3 separate regions of the Homo sapiens genome follow, and regions 1 and 2 are each linked to region 3. Evidence: promoter capture Hi-C in 16 types of primary human blood cells and fetal thymus (Javierre and others, 2016). All regions are on one chromosome and are shown on one strand. The core of a region is centred on a gene start or on the middle of the fragment in contact, and the rest is flanking DNA. Distances in the headings are between cores, read along the strand shown. Region 1 holds the start of MKNK1 (MAPK interacting serine/threonine kinase 1). Region 2 overlaps P3R3URF-PIK3R3 (P3R3URF-PIK3R3 readthrough). Region 3 holds the start of LRRC41 (leucine rich repeat containing 41).

Region 1 (4,472 bases), core at 1,548-4,047, 300 kb before region 3:
CCAGCATTCTAAAAGGGTGCTATTTGCACACCTCCTATAACAGATCGCTCACTACCTCCTCTGTCATTGGACAGCTCAGACTGTTACAAGTCCCATGCTTTGGGTTCATGGTCATTTTGAAATATGACCATGGCAGTGAGAGTAGATTTATCTTAGAACTGTGTGACCCAAGACCTGCACCTTACATGAGAATATCTGTAAATACATTAGGAAGCTGACACAAAATTGCTTTGAGAGATTCACAGAGGGATGCTTAAAGAAGAATAGACAGAAAGGAAGAGAAGGGGAAAAGAAAGAGATAGGGCCTCAATGATGCAGATAAAAGAGCACACTCCCATGGGGCAAAACCTAGTAACAAAGGGTCCTGGGAGGTAGAGTGGCAGCTTGGTTGAGAAGTCAGGCTGGGCTTTATTTTCCTGTTGGCTCAAGGTCCATAACAAAGCTGGGCATAGTGGCTCTTCCCTGTAATCCCAGCACTTTGGGAGGCCAAGGTGGGAGGATCATTGAGCTCAGGAGTTCGAGACCAGCCTGGGCAACATGGCAAAACCCTGCCTCTAAAAAAATTCAAAAATTAGCCAGTCATGGTAGTGCATGCCTGTAATCCCAGCTACTCAGGAGGCTGAAGCAGGAGGATCACTTGAGCCCAAGCAGAGGTTGCAGTGAGCAAAGCTGGTGCCACTGCACTCCAGCCTGGGGAACACAGTGAGACCTTGTCTCAGAAAAAAAAAAAGAAAAAAAATTCCAAAACAATATTTGGAGCAGGGACCTAGGTAGTAAGCCATCCTCTCCAGCCTGGGGCAGAGCATCCACCTATTGAGTAAAGGATGCCGCATCACCCTCGGCTCCCATAAACACTGCAGCCTCTGAGGTTTCCTGTTGCCTCTCCTCCCTACCCCACAGCAAGCTGTGGAATATGTGGTGAAATAAGCCACAGTCATGACTAGAGCTCCACCTGCTTTGGGGGAGCCCTCCTTCCTCTGAGCACCCCCAGAGCCCTCAAAGATGTTAACTGAATTTGATTGCCATGTGAGGGACATAGCAACTTTGAGAACCTGGAACATAGGTCCTGAATCTCTTGGGCTATTGCCACAGGCAACAGGGAAGGGAACAGGCCAGCAGGGCCTCTGAAGACTTGAAGCTTGGATCGGCCTCCACGGAAGGTAATGAGTGGGAGAAGTCAGGATACATCGGGGCCCTCAGGTTGGACCGCAGGATTCCAGAAGGGAATGAACACAGAAGCTTGATCTTCCGCCTCTCCGGCCTTCACCCAGATTGGGAAATCTAGCAAAGTCCTGAATGTTCACTAATATTCCCAATCTCCTTCCATCATACAGATGAAAAGACAGCCCCGACAAGACAGGGAACAAATGTTTGTCAGGTGGATGATGGGAAGCAAGTCCCTGGGGCTCTTTAACTAGCTTGGCTTACCAAATCCTCACGATAATCCTGAGACAGGCAGGGAAGGGATGTTCACCTCCATCACTCGGAGTCAGCGCCTGAATTAAATCCCAGTCCACACTCTCATCCTTTCTCATCGCAGCTGCAGACTTGGGAAGGGGATGTGGGGAGACTGGTTGAGGCATTAACCTATTTACAGTTGTTTTTCCCCAAGAAATGAACTTTTAAAAGTTTTAAAAATTTTGAAATACTGGGGATAATGTTGTACTCAAGGAGAAACTCTTATGGTGAAATTCTAGGCACTCAGACTTTTAAAGAAATTGTACAGAATTGGCCCCCGTTTTAGAAAAGACTAGCAGCATTTCCCCACATATAAAAGGCATTTTAAAATTCCTTCCTGGCCTGCAGAAGCTCTCAGTACATGTTAATTACACCTGTCGCGCCCGGCCTCCTACCTTCCCGGGCTTCTCCACCCTCCATTCGGAAAAGAAAGCGCCGGAGGAGCTAAGCCCCACCCGCTTGCCAGCAATCTCCCCTCTCCCCGCCTCTTCCCTGTCACGCCTGCGCAGTTCGCTCAGCTCGAGCCCCCTGCCCTCAGGCGGCCCTGGGTAGCCATCAGGGCGCAGGCGCAGCTCCGCCCCCTCACCCTCCTCTCTGATCGGGCCCACCCCCTGGATCTAGCACCGCCTCTTCCGCGTTCTCGGAGGAGCGATCTGCAGGTAGGGGTGCGCGCGACCGCTCCCCGGCGGGAGCCAGCGAAGGTAAAAGCGAGACCTGCGAGGTATTCCTCCGAGCTAAATGGGGCCGGGGTCTGTGAGTGAGCTCGTGTGCCCGGAAGGGGGCAGTCAGGGCCTTCACGGCTGCCCGAGGTCACGACGCGATTCAGCTGCGGAGGGACAGCCTAAGGGGACGCTTTTCAGGACTGTCCCGAGCTGTCTGCGACCTCTGTGCCTGGGGTCGGGGCGTGGCCGGTGTCCGAGATGGCGCTTACTCTGTGGCCCGTTTGAGACTCAGTCTCTCCCAGGGATCAGGACCGAGGCTATGGCTGGGCGCAGGGCTCAGGCAGTCCAGTATCATGAATAGTTTTTCACGTGAGGAATTTGTGAAATCTGTGTACTGCGTTATTTTTAAGTTAATTGTTTTCATTTATTTTCAGTATTTAAAGGCTCCTGCCTGTGTGGATGGCTGTCCACAGGGAAAGGTAATAAGAGTGTCAGGTGCACCCTGTCTTCTAGAGAGCTCCAAGCTCCCTGACAGTGGCAGATCAGAGGCAGGCAGGCTCACAGGAATGAAGTGTTGTTAGAAGTGCTCAACTTCAGGGTCAGGGAGTCCTGGGTTTAGATCTCATCTCTTCCACCTCTTAGCTGTGTGTCCTGGGGCAAGTCTGCTTCCCCTCCCAGAGCTTCACTTTCTTCCCTAGGAAATGGCCATAATAGGGTCATTGTGAAGGGTGAATAGGATTATATGGAAGTCACCTAGTATGGCGCCTGTCATGTAATGGGTGCTGAATACATGGTAGCTGTGATTTCTAGGAGCTTGGTCATTTTGGATTGGGGTACTTTAGAAAGGCTCTGAGAGAAGAGTTGTTGTGACCTGGGCCTTGAAGCCTCAGTGGGATTTACAGATGGAACTGACCCTGCAGAATGGGAAGGGCACCACTGCCCATGCGCCAGGCACATGCTGGACAGTAGGTGTAATGTCTCACTGGATCACCACCCATCAGCCAGGTGCTTTCAGCCCACTCTCCTTAGCTTCAGCCCTTCATTAGAGGGCTGGGCTGGAAGTGATGTGAAGAGGAAATCCAGGGTTGGGTTTTATATGGAACTGAGCCAGCTAGAGGCTTTGGTGCCCCCTCTGCCCATCTGCTCCCACCTCAACACTTCTCTCTCTGTAATCCAGAGAGTTGGTTAGGAGTCCTGTTACTCTGGTATTTTGCAGATGTTGACAGTTGTGGGGGATGGCAACTCAGATTGCATGAAGCGAAGCCATGGGAGAGGGAAGCTCTGTGAACAGGAGCTGTCAGAGCCCAGCACGTGCTTAGAAAGTGCATGTGGTCTCCTGTAATGTGGTCCCAGAGTAATTGAATTACTTAGTTCCTTTTGCATCCTCTTCATGGGTGCCCTTGTGCTCTTCCTGAGACACTACTCGGAAACCTTGGTGGGCATCATTGCCTACTATATAGAGCAGTGGTGTCCAATCTTTTGGCTTCCCTGGGCCACATTGGAAGAAGAAGAACCATCTTGGGCCACACATAAAATACACTAACATTAACAATAGCTGATGAGCTTTAAAAAAATTGCAAAAAAATCTCAGTGTTTTAAGAACGTTTATGAATTTGTGTTGGACCACATTCAGAGCCATCCAGGGCCGCGGGTTGGACAAGCTGGATGTAGAGTTTGGACTCCAGCCTCAGACAAGTTCCTGCACAATTTGTTCCCACACCTCTCCCCTCCCTGTTTCCCTTGGTTTTCCCAAACCTGCAACCTGTGCTTCAGTCAAAATAAACTAGTTGTCTCTGTTTCTCCTTTTTTTTTGAGATGGAGTCTCACTTTGTCACCCAGGCTGGAGTGCAGTGGCACAATCTCGGCTCACTGCAACCTCCACTTCCCAGGTTCAAGTGATTCTCCTGCCTCAGCCTCCTGAGTAGCTGGAATTACAGGCATGAGCCACCACACCCGGCTAATTTTTGTATTTTTAGTAGAGACGGGGTTTCGCCATGTTGGCCAGGCTGGATTCAAACTTCTGACCTCAGGTGATCCGCCTGCCTGGGCCTCCCAAAGTGCTGGTACTACAGATGTGAGCCAACGTGCCCGGCCAAATCTCTGTTTCTCAAACACTCCCTGCATGTTCCTGCTCGAGCCTTTGCTTATATTCTCTCTTCCTGGATTTCCCTCCTCCTCCTCATCTTTCAAGGCTTACATCTCTTACATCTCATGTGGCCTCCATGGTGAAGCTTTTCTGAGCCTTCTGCTGGATTAGTTGTTCCCCTTTCCATCTTCTGTAGCAAAGGCTGACCCTCTAATATAGCTCTCATCATAGTCTGCCTAGGGATATGTACACTCCATATGTACTCT
Region 2 (4,540 bases), core at 210-2,709, 260 kb after region 3:
AAGGTATTTTGTTTCTTACCAACATAATTTAGGCTTCAGCATCTCACCAGCCCCTCCCTCTGAAGAAGTATTATGTTCAGAAGCCAACAAAACAGTTTGTTGCCAGACCAATGTTTGATGGGAAAACGTGGCACTCATAGTTGAATGTATACTTCTGTACCAAAACTTGAACATAAAAAGACTAGAATTTGTGAGTTTTAGCAAACGCTAAAATTGATCACTGTAACTAACCCCTTCTGTCCTTCCTGCCTGTTTCTCTGAGATGAGGAATAGCATTCTTTTTGTGGGGATGGTGAGCTTTGAATCATAAAATGAAGTTGGTGCTTGTATGGTGTTTCCTTAGCCTAAAGAATGATCTGTTGTTTGAAACCTTTGTAACTTGTTTGTATGAGTAAAGAAAAGGTGCAATGCAGTGCTTTTAGATGGCTTGATATACCAAATAACAATATAGAACAACATTATTATATGTGCTTCCCCAAGTTTAAAGGCCCTGCAGAAATAGTAAACATGGTTTAATTTCCCTTCATTTCCCCCTCCTTTGCTGGATGGGGTTTTGGGAGCTATAGGTTGCTAAGGAGGGGAGTCAGATTGTGGTCAGGTGCCTCAGTAAATCACAGACCCAGGGGCCCTGTGGTCCAGGGTGAGAGTCACACCACATTACACATGTGCTTCCATACAGTGGTTTCTGAAGCTTTTGCAGGGAGAGAAGATGGCTTAGTGTTTAGACTGTTAGTAGAAGCCATCTGGAAGCTTTTCTCTTTGCCTTTTTTTGTGATCCTGCCATTAAGGCTATGTGCAGTCTGCCCTCCTGCTCCAGTGGCCTTGATTTTAGGCCAGGAATCTTCTGCTCCATGTGGCTTAAGCCTTCCAGCTGAGTGAAGCTAGGCAAATGGAGTGGGGGCAGGCATCTATTCCTGCCCCCATCATGCCCCACACCCATCAGTCAACACTCATTTGACAAATAGAGTCCAGCTGCCTCTGAGCCAATCCTGGGACCATAATAGGCTCAGAGTGAGTCAGCTGTTTGAACCCAAAGCTGTGCAGTCAGGCACCCTGGCTGAGCTAGAGAAGCCAGTACCTGCATCTTGGTTTATAAGGCTTACAGCTAGGAAAGCTCTAGTTCTGGGGGTGAAAGAAAAATATTAGTTTACCTGAGCACTTATTTCCATGACAGGGTCTAAAATATGGACCATGATGTAGACACAGATTTTTAATTTTGGAAAAACCTCCAGTTACTAGTGACGAGGATAGAAAGGGAAGTGCTTCTCTTTGGCTTTTTCTTGGTTACACTGCAGTTTCAGGATTGGGTGAGACAGAGACAAATGAACCCCCCTCTAAAGTCATTTAACTAATAGCCAGCACATCCCTTCCCCAAACTGTCAATTGAAATCTTAACTGAAAGTTTTACTGAATAATACCAAGCTAATTGCTGTTGGGCACACCTGGATGGCTTTGCACCTGGTGTTGAACCTGCTGAAGCAGGTGGATGCTCAAGATTACGTGCAAGGAATCCCTCCCATCTGGTACTAAAATTTCAGTGTGTTCTGAGTGTCTTTTAAACCAAAATGGAAATACAGATACAGGGCTGTAGTATTCAGTAATGTGTCTGCTCCTTGTTGGGCAGACACCAGCGGTGTGCAGGGAGAGACCAAGTACCATCTTTATCTACACTTGGGCTGGCTTGTGGAGAAGGGCTGCTTTTTTTCAGTCCTACATTCCTTCATTTTTTTTTTCATTCTTGAATTCATTGTTTTGTGGGATCTAAGACCCAGGGGTCATTTGAGAGGTTTGACAGTATCTTTTCTGACCAGTTGCCACATGACTTGCTTGACCCTGAGCCTGTGGAAATGGCATAGGGACCAGTCTACTACCCACTGGGCCTGGTGTGTAGAGGGGGAGAGGGTAGCAAGGTGCTTCTCTACGCCCATGACTTGGGAGCAGGTCTTGGCCTCCTTCATGAGAGTCTAGTGCCATGTCCTGTCCCATGATCTGGACCCTGGGACTGTCTTGGCATCTTAACTGCAGTTTCAATGAGGCAGAGGGCAAAGAGAGACCAAGATCAGAGGGGTTCATTATACCCCTGGCTAGAGAACCCAGCTACTGACATGCAAGCAGCTTGGGGCTGGCTGGACACAGGTACTAGGCCCATTGTTTCCAGGTGAAGCTTTCATCACAGAACAGTGTTGTCTCCACCTGGCCTTAGATGGCACGCCATGATTCGGGCCTGGATAGACTGCCTGCGTCCTTACCACTGATCTGGCCAAGAATGAGGCCCTCCCAACACTTTCACTCCCTCTCCAAGCCTTGATGGGACCTCCACTTATTTAGGCCTCATGTGCTTTGAAGAAGCTTTGAGAGCCAATGTGTCTTCCACGGGTCTCTTTTTTGCTACAAGTAATCAGCCCCATGTGTTCTCTTAAACTGAGAATTGCACCTGGGCAATTCCTGTTTTCTAAGGTGGTCTCTGCTGCTATTTAACAACCCAGAGTAGGCCTCTGTGAGGCTTCAGTGGCCTCAGAAACCAGAGGGTCCAGATAGGGGGCCTGCTTGGGCCCTCTGCTGCCAACTGCTCAAACCTGCTTTAGCTCCAGCCACTTGTGGCAAACAACCTCGTTTCCTTACAAATTCCAGCATGTGACTTTGGTGCCGTTACTTGTGAAAAATCTATTCTGTTGTCTTTGATGTGTCCAAGAAAATTCGTGTAGTTTACGTAAAAATATCTGACTCACAAGAAAGCCAACTGTATGTCTTGTGATGGGACAGTTCATAATGTAGTTGCTAGACCACTTTACAAATTGTTCTTGTCACCAGATGTGTTCAGACATTGCTGTGCAATTGTTGGGGAGGGTAGGGGGAAAGGCGAGAGGAGATACTTATTGGTCTTTTTGTTTAATACCTTCCCCAAGAGGGGACAGTCTGGCCAACTTGCTCCAGTAATGCAATAAAGACATTGCAATAAAGTAATTTTTTGTCTTCATGCTATGAAGGGGTGGGCTGGGGGCAGAGTGGGGGTCAAGAGAGAAGAGTACTCAGGTGTTGAACAGCCCTTGAAACTTCCAAACCTTCTCTCCAGTAAGCACCAAAAGACTAGTACTGGGGCAGCCAGAGGCTCTTTTCTTCCTAGGGGAGGACATTGACTCCAACTAGGCATGATGCCAGAGTCCTGTCCACCGAACACAGACACAGAAGTCTTAGATACTGACTCTGAGAAAATTAAAACTGAATGCCATTTCCTCCACACCTCACTGCCCACTCCTAATAAGCTGTTTATTGGTTCTCATATTTCTGCCCAGAATGAAGTGTTTCCACATTCTACTCTGGGGGAGGGGGAAATGGGCCCAGCTTTATAATCTATCCTCTTATTGCCCCAGGCCCTTGTCATCTCCTGCCAAGGCACACTGTTGAGCTTCCTGTATTCTGGGAACGTAATGAGCCAACATGCGATAACCTCTTGTTGCATAGGATATTGCAGCGCTCATCCATGTCTCAGGCCCCACCCATGTGTACTCAATTATAAATAAGTCAGATTGGGCAGGGAACAGCCTGTTGTTCTAAGTGACCTTGCCTATGTCTTTTCTCCCCACTACACTTTAGCTACACAGCATCCCAAGACCACTGCCAGGAACTATGGATTTCTCCTAATCCCAGAGTTGTTCGCACTTCTGTGTTTAGGATGCTCAAATTCCTAGCTCCTTCCCAGTTCTTTCTTCTGAACTCTACCCGCTGGCTGGATGTTTCCACTGGGCTCCTGGGTATCTCACCGACACTTCAAACTTGTTTACTTGGGGCTGGGCGTGGTGGCTCATGCCTGTAATCCCAGCACTTTGGGAGGCCGAGGCGGGTGGATCACCTGAGGTCAGGAGTTCGAGAACAGCCTGGCCAACGTGGTGAAACCCCGTCTCTACTAAAAGTACAAAAATTAGCTGGGCGTGGTAGCATGCACCTGTAATCCCAGCTACTCGGGAGGCTGAGGCATGAGAATTGCTTGAACCTGGGATGCAGGGGTTGCAGTGAGCTGAGGCCGTGCCACTGCACTCCAGCCTGGGCAACAGAGCGAAACTCTGTCTCAAAAAAGCAAACTTGTTTACTTGTCAGAAAAAGTATGATTGGCTATGAATTTCCTCACCTTCCTACCACCAAACCTACAACCTTATCTATATCTACATAACTATTCTCCCTCCCATCTGTTAAATTACAATAGTCCCCTCCAACTAAAGTCAATCCTTCCACATGTATTTTGGAATCTATTTTCTTCCACCTCAGGAATCTCCCAAGATTAAGATCAATTCTTTCTCTACTTCAACTGGATCATTTCCACTGACACTTAAACATGGTTGGTTGGTTCTCATTCTACTCCCCTAATCCCTACTCAATCATCCCATATACCTTTATCTCTTTTCTCCTCTTCAAAGCCAAGCCTTTGGAAAGAACTGTCTTAAATTTCCTTATTTCCCCATCTCAAATATTTCAGTACTGGTTCCACCACTGTTTGAAACTGCTTTTCTTGATGCCTTCAATAACCATCGCTGTTAACTATCCT
Region 3 (5,136 bases), core at 825-3,324:
AAGCTTCGCCTCTCGGGTTGACGCCATTCTGCCTCAGCCTCTCGAGTAGCTGGGACTACAGGCGCCCGCCGCCACGCCCGGCTAATTTTTTGTATTTTCAGTAGAGAAGGGGTTTCACCATGTTAGCCAGGATGGTTTGGATCTCCTGACCTCCTGATCCACCCGCCTCGGCCTCCCGATCCACCCGCCTCGGCCTCCCGATCCACCCGCCTCGGCCTCCCAAAGTGCTGGGATTACAGGCATGAGCCACCGCGCCCGGCCAGAATACCCTAGTTTAAAACTGACTGCTTAATTACTTGCTTTTTCTCATCTATTGCAGCGGTGGATCTTGCTGACCTTTCTGAGGCAGGCTCCATTTCTTTCTTTAGTTTTTTTTTTTTTTTTTTTTTTTGAGACAGGGTCTCACTCGGGTTGCCTCGGCTGGAGTGCAGTGACACGATCACGGCTCACTGCAGCCTGGACTTCCTGGGCTCAAACTCCCGAGCAGTTGAGACCACAGGCGTTCACCACCATGCCCGGCTAATTTTTATATTTTTTGTAGAGACGGGGTTTCGCCACGTTGCCCAGGCTGGTCCAACTCCTGGACTCATGCTACCTGTCTGCCTCGGCCGTCCTCCTAAAGTGTTGGGATTACAGGCGTGAGCCACTGCGCCCGGCCTCAGGTTCTATTTCTTTTTAGAAATAATAAGACTAGAAAAATTAAGGGATAAATAAGTCTCCAATTATTCTGAACCCACAGCCCAGAATGGCTGCCCCCAAGTGACCAGAGAACAGACGGACAGGAAATGAGATTAGAAACAACTAGTAGCTGTGTCGCAAAATTGATAAGAGTCCTGGTTCTAGAACCGCGCTGCTTGGCCGCAATTCCTGGCTGCACCAATTTGGTAGCTGCATGACCTTAGAAAAGATATTTAACCTCTATGCTTGTTTCCTCATCTGTAAAAATGGCACTAATAGTACCCAACACTTACTTCATAGGAATAGTGTGTAGATGAAATGAATTAGGGCCGGGCGCGGTGGCTCACGCCTGTAATCCCAGGACTTTGGGAGGCCGGGGTGGGCGGATCACTAGGTCAGGAGTTCGAGATCAGCCTGGCCAACAGAGTGAAACCCCCGTCGCTACTAAAAACACAAAAATTAGCCAGGCGTGGTGGCGGACACCTGTAGTCCCAGCTACCTGGGAGGCTGAGGCAGGAGAATCGCTTGAACCCAGGAGGCGGAGGTTGCAGCGAGCCGAGACCACGCCACTGCACTCCAGCCTGGGCGACAGAGCGAGATTCCATCTCAAAAAAAAAAAAAAAATTAATTAGTGCATATAAAGCACTTGGAATAGCAAGCAGTCAATAATTATAGCAGCACTCTTTCTCTGGGAAAGAGCTCCCTCTTCCATCACAGAATCACATCGTACATTCTTTCATTGTCCCCAAAGACACACACCTTCCTCAAAGAAAAGGAACACAAGGCCAGGTCTTCCGAACCTCCATAGAAGATGTGGTAGGGATTCCTAACCTGAGCTGGGGCAAGGCGGTCTGTTTGCTCCCCAAATCTGTGAAACGCGGGCTTCAGAACATCTGACTGACTGCAAACATAGGTCATATTTTTACAAGACTTTAGTCCACAAAACATTTTCGCTCTCAAACCTTCACTACATTCACAGAATGCAGAAGCCGAGGCCCAGAGAAAAACTAGTCATCTATCTGTCCAAAGTCACCGGACGAATTCTGGGGAAAGGTCGAGGGAACTAGAGCTCCCGACTATGCAAACCCTAGAGGGTAAACTGGGGGCTAAGAGGGCCCCGTGCGTGTTTTGGCGGGCTAGGTCCTGGGCTTCAGGGCAGAGAAGAGGGCCGAGTGGATCGCCTTGCCTTACCTCCTCAGGATCTCCGGATTCGGTAAGCATCTTTTGCTCGTCCTCCAGTCCCATGTCTGGCTACGGTTCTAGATTCAACACGAGCAGCAACAGCGGCACCTAACCCAGTTCAGGATCAAGAAGGACTTGTAAGGGTCACTCAGCGGAAATCCGGCGATCTGGCCGGAAGTGCGGCACACTCATCGTGGTCGCGAACACATGCTCAGATTGGCATGTACTACCAGCCGCAGGCAGAGGTTAGGGGTAGCTGATGTTTGCACCCGAGGAGGCTTTGCTAAGAAACATCCCCTTAGTCATACCACACCCAAGTATAATTGATCTAGGAGTTTATCTAAAATAGTAGCTCCTAAGAGACTTGGAAAGTGTGCTAATTTCTTCGAAATTTCTTTAGAATAATTCACATTCTTCCCCATATCGCTTATGGAGCCGTCCTAACTGCTGACCTTTTCAAGATGGCGGTCCGCGGGCGACACTCTCGGGCTCGCGCACCTCCCCAAGATGGCGGCGCCCGAGGCCTGGCGCGCCCGGAGTTGCTGGTTCTGTGAGGTAGCGGCGGCAACGACCATGGAGGCCACGTCCCGGGAGGCGGCGCCAGCGAAGAGCTCGGCCTCGGGCCCCAACGCTCCCCCCGCCCTGTTCGAGCTGTGCGGGCGGGCGGTGAGCGCCCATATGGGGGTTCTGGAGAGCGGGGTGTGGGGTAAGTCGCGGGGTGAGGGGCTACCTCTGGCTAAGAGCAAGGGGCGGCCCAGCGGCCGGGGGGCGCGGGGGGCGAGGCCGGGAGGCCCGGGGCAAGGCCCAGCCTGGGGCGCTGAAAGCCAGCTCGTAGGATCGGAGAATGAATTTTGTGACTGACAGGGCTGGACAGAGTAAAGACGGAGACCTAAATGGGCAGGCTGACCCGCACCGCGGCCTGGCTCGGGGGCGCGGGGGGCGAGGCCAGGAGGCCCGGTCTGGAGCGAAGCAGGCTGGGCCCGGGCGACTGAGGCTGGATTGCGGCTGTGGGCCGCGCGAACTGACACTCGGCTGGGCCGGGCAGGAGAGTCTCGGATGTCGAACCGGTGGGCAGCGATGGCCCGGCTGCCCTAGGGCAGGGGCCGAGGTTAGGAGGCCCGGCCTAAGGCAAGGCCAGGCCAGGCCCGGGGCCACCGAACCTGACTGATGGCCCCGGGGCTCCAGCATCTGCCTGACACGCCACGGGGGTCGAGATTCCGGAGGCCAAGCCGATGGGCGGAGGGGAGGACAGCAGATTGGAGAGCGAGGGAATGGGGCAGGGGGAGAGGCCGAACGAAAGGGTCGGGGCGCCGCGGCCTGTCTGACGGCCCAGGGCTGACGGGAGCGAACCGACAACCGGGGTCTCGGGTGCCAAACTGACTAAGCGACCGAGCGACCGTGCGACCCGCAGGACAGGGAGCGCCGGAGGCCACTCGGATCGGCTCGAGCGGCGAGGAGGGACCGGAGAGCGAGTGGAGGGGGGCCCGGAGCGGCTTAAACAAGCGAGGGAGGCTCGAATGACGGACAGGCGGGAAGGGCCAAGGAGGCCCCAAGCGGGGCGACGGCCCGGGGATCCCGGACTGCCGGGCTGCCGTGGCAGGGGGCGCGGCGCCGCCAAGAGGCCTTGGGCTGAATGGGAGTGAACGGGGGCCCCAGGCCTGAAGGCGGCCGGGACCAAAGGGCCGGGCCTGGATGGAGGGCGGCCTGGGGCGCCGGGATGAACGGCCGGGGAGGGCGAACCGGCCAGTTGGGCTGGGAGGCGGGGCTGTGGGTTGGGGACCGCTGGCCGCGGCCTGGCCGCTGACGAGGGAAACTTGGGTCCGACGTGGGGCAAGTGAAAGAGGGGAAAGTGAGGCTCTGCCAAGCAGGCCTAGCCGCGCTGGGGACAGGGGAGGCCTCGGGCCTGAGAGGCTGCTGGCTCTGTGAGGGTGGGGTCGGGAGGCCGGGGTTGGAGTTGGGCGAAGAGGTGGCAGGCCCGGCCGAGGCCTGCTGGGGAGGGGGGCAGGAGAGCAGGCCCCGGGCCTGGAAGCGGCGCGGGGGAGGTTCCACCAGGAGGCCTTGCGGGTGGCCGTGGCGTCTTTGCAGGAGGAAGGCCCTGGTCAGGACAGGAGTGAGGACTTTGAGGACTCGAGGTTGCAGGGCGCGGAGTTTGAGTTATGCCATGAGGAGGGGGTGTGGGGAAAAGGCCCTGGAGTTTGGGGGGACTGAAGCTCCGGGATAAGCTGGAGGGTGGTCGGGGAGGCCCTTGGCTGTGGGAGTGGAGCCCAGTACCATGAGGCCTGAGTGTCCTGCATAGTGGTGGTGGAAGAGGCTTTTAGAAGTCGGCCGGTGTGCGGAGGGGACAGTGGAGGCCCCAGGCCAGCCAGCGGCTGAGAAGACAAGGGGCAGGCCGACCCATGGGGAACAGGAGGAAAGGCTCCGTAGAGCTGAGCAGGGAGCTCAGAAAAGTCCTAGGGCATGGGGAAGAAGGCAGAGAGGGTCTGGCTTTTCCGCCTGGAGCTTCTGGGATGCTAAGACTGGCTAAAAAGGAAGATGACTGGGTGCGGAGGCCCAGGTTGGGAAGCAGCAGCATTAAAGGTGCAGGCTAGAAAGAAGCAAGGAAAATCCCGGCTTAAGAAGAATGGAGAAAGGAAGAGAGGAGTTTGTGGGTAACTGGGGATGAGAATTCCTGTGGCTGCAAGAAGAGATGGCTAACTAGAGGGGAGCAGGTTGGAGGGAAAAGGGGTAAGGCTCTGGAGGAACTTCTTCCCGTGTGGCCTCTTCCCCCTAAAACAATTGACAGTTTACTGAATCTCCCTTTCCCCTTCTCCCTCCCCTACCACTGCTGTACATACCACCATCCCATTACTGGCTGAGCCCCCAGCCAAGTTGAGAGGAGACAGGGGAGGAAGAGCTCCTGTGGGCCTAGACCAGAAAAAGCTGAATCAAGTGAGGCCTTTTAGGAGAATAGCCAAGGAAGAGGCCTGCTAAGCATTGCTATTTTAGAGGAAGGTCTGTGTGGGCTAACAGCCAGGAAAGGCTTCCTGGAGGTAGTGGACTAGCATCGCTTTGTGTAAGGAGTTGGGGCAGCGGGTGTATAGAGGCAGCAGGAAAGGGTACAATGAGGAAACTTTAAAATAAGGTATATTATACCTTGAATACCAGGATATGGAGTTTGGACTTTATCATGAATGCAGCAGAGAGACCTCCAAGGGTTTTGAAGAGGGTAGTGTCATCACCAAGAGCAGGATGAAGAGGGACTGGATGGAGACTGAAGTGAAGGAGAGCAGTTAGGCT

Evidence for each region. Contacts are between HindIII fragments. The CHiCAGO score rates a contact against its expected background, and 5 or more counts as called.
Region 1: a fragment that was not itself captured here is called in contact with the fragment with the promoter of LRRC41 in region 3 in 1 of 17 cell types (neutrophils); the score reaches 5.1 in neutrophils.
Region 2: a fragment that was not itself captured here is called in contact with the fragment with the promoter of LRRC41 in region 3 in 1 of 17 cell types (total B cells); the score reaches 5.4 in total B cells.

What each region holds. Positions count from the first base shown.
Region 1 is chr1:46,601,872-46,606,343 of GRCh38, reverse strand. MKNK1 (MAPK interacting serine/threonine kinase 1) reads left to right here and starts at 2,076. Exons shown (of 13, transcript NM_001135553.4): 1 at 2,076-2,159. RefSeq lists a silencer at 1,895-2,114 and enhancers at 2,445-2,494, 2,262-2,762. The HindIII fragment of the contact is 3,112 bases long and covers 1,242-4,353 here.
Region 2 is chr1:46,038,564-46,043,103 of GRCh38, reverse strand. P3R3URF-PIK3R3 (P3R3URF-PIK3R3 readthrough) reads left to right here. Exons shown (of 10, transcript NM_001303427.2): 10 at 1-2,964. PIK3R3 (phosphoinositide-3-kinase regulatory subunit 3) reads left to right here. Exons shown (of 10, transcript NM_003629.4): 10 at 1-2,964. Among named protein-coding and RNA genes, the nearest start is that of PIK3R3, 92 kb to the left of the region's middle. RefSeq lists an enhancer at 1-58. The HindIII fragment of the contact is 1,414 bases long and covers 753-2,166 here.
Region 3 is chr1:46,300,554-46,305,689 of GRCh38, reverse strand. It overlaps LRRC41 (leucine rich repeat containing 41), which reads left to right and starts at 2,074. Exons shown (of 10, transcript NM_006369.5): 1 at 2,074-2,566. The coding sequence starts at 2,368. UQCRH (ubiquinol-cytochrome c reductase hinge protein) reads right to left here and starts at 1,992. Exons shown (of 4, transcript NM_006004.4): 1 at 1,870-1,992. The coding sequence starts at 1,923. RefSeq lists enhancers at 1,238-1,819, 1,820-2,403, 2,139-2,538, 3,959-4,078, 3,569-4,151 and 1 more and silencers at 2,529-2,588, 2,639-2,688, 2,719-2,868, 3,219-3,288, 3,319-3,868. The HindIII fragment of the contact is 7,686 bases long and covers 6-5,136 here.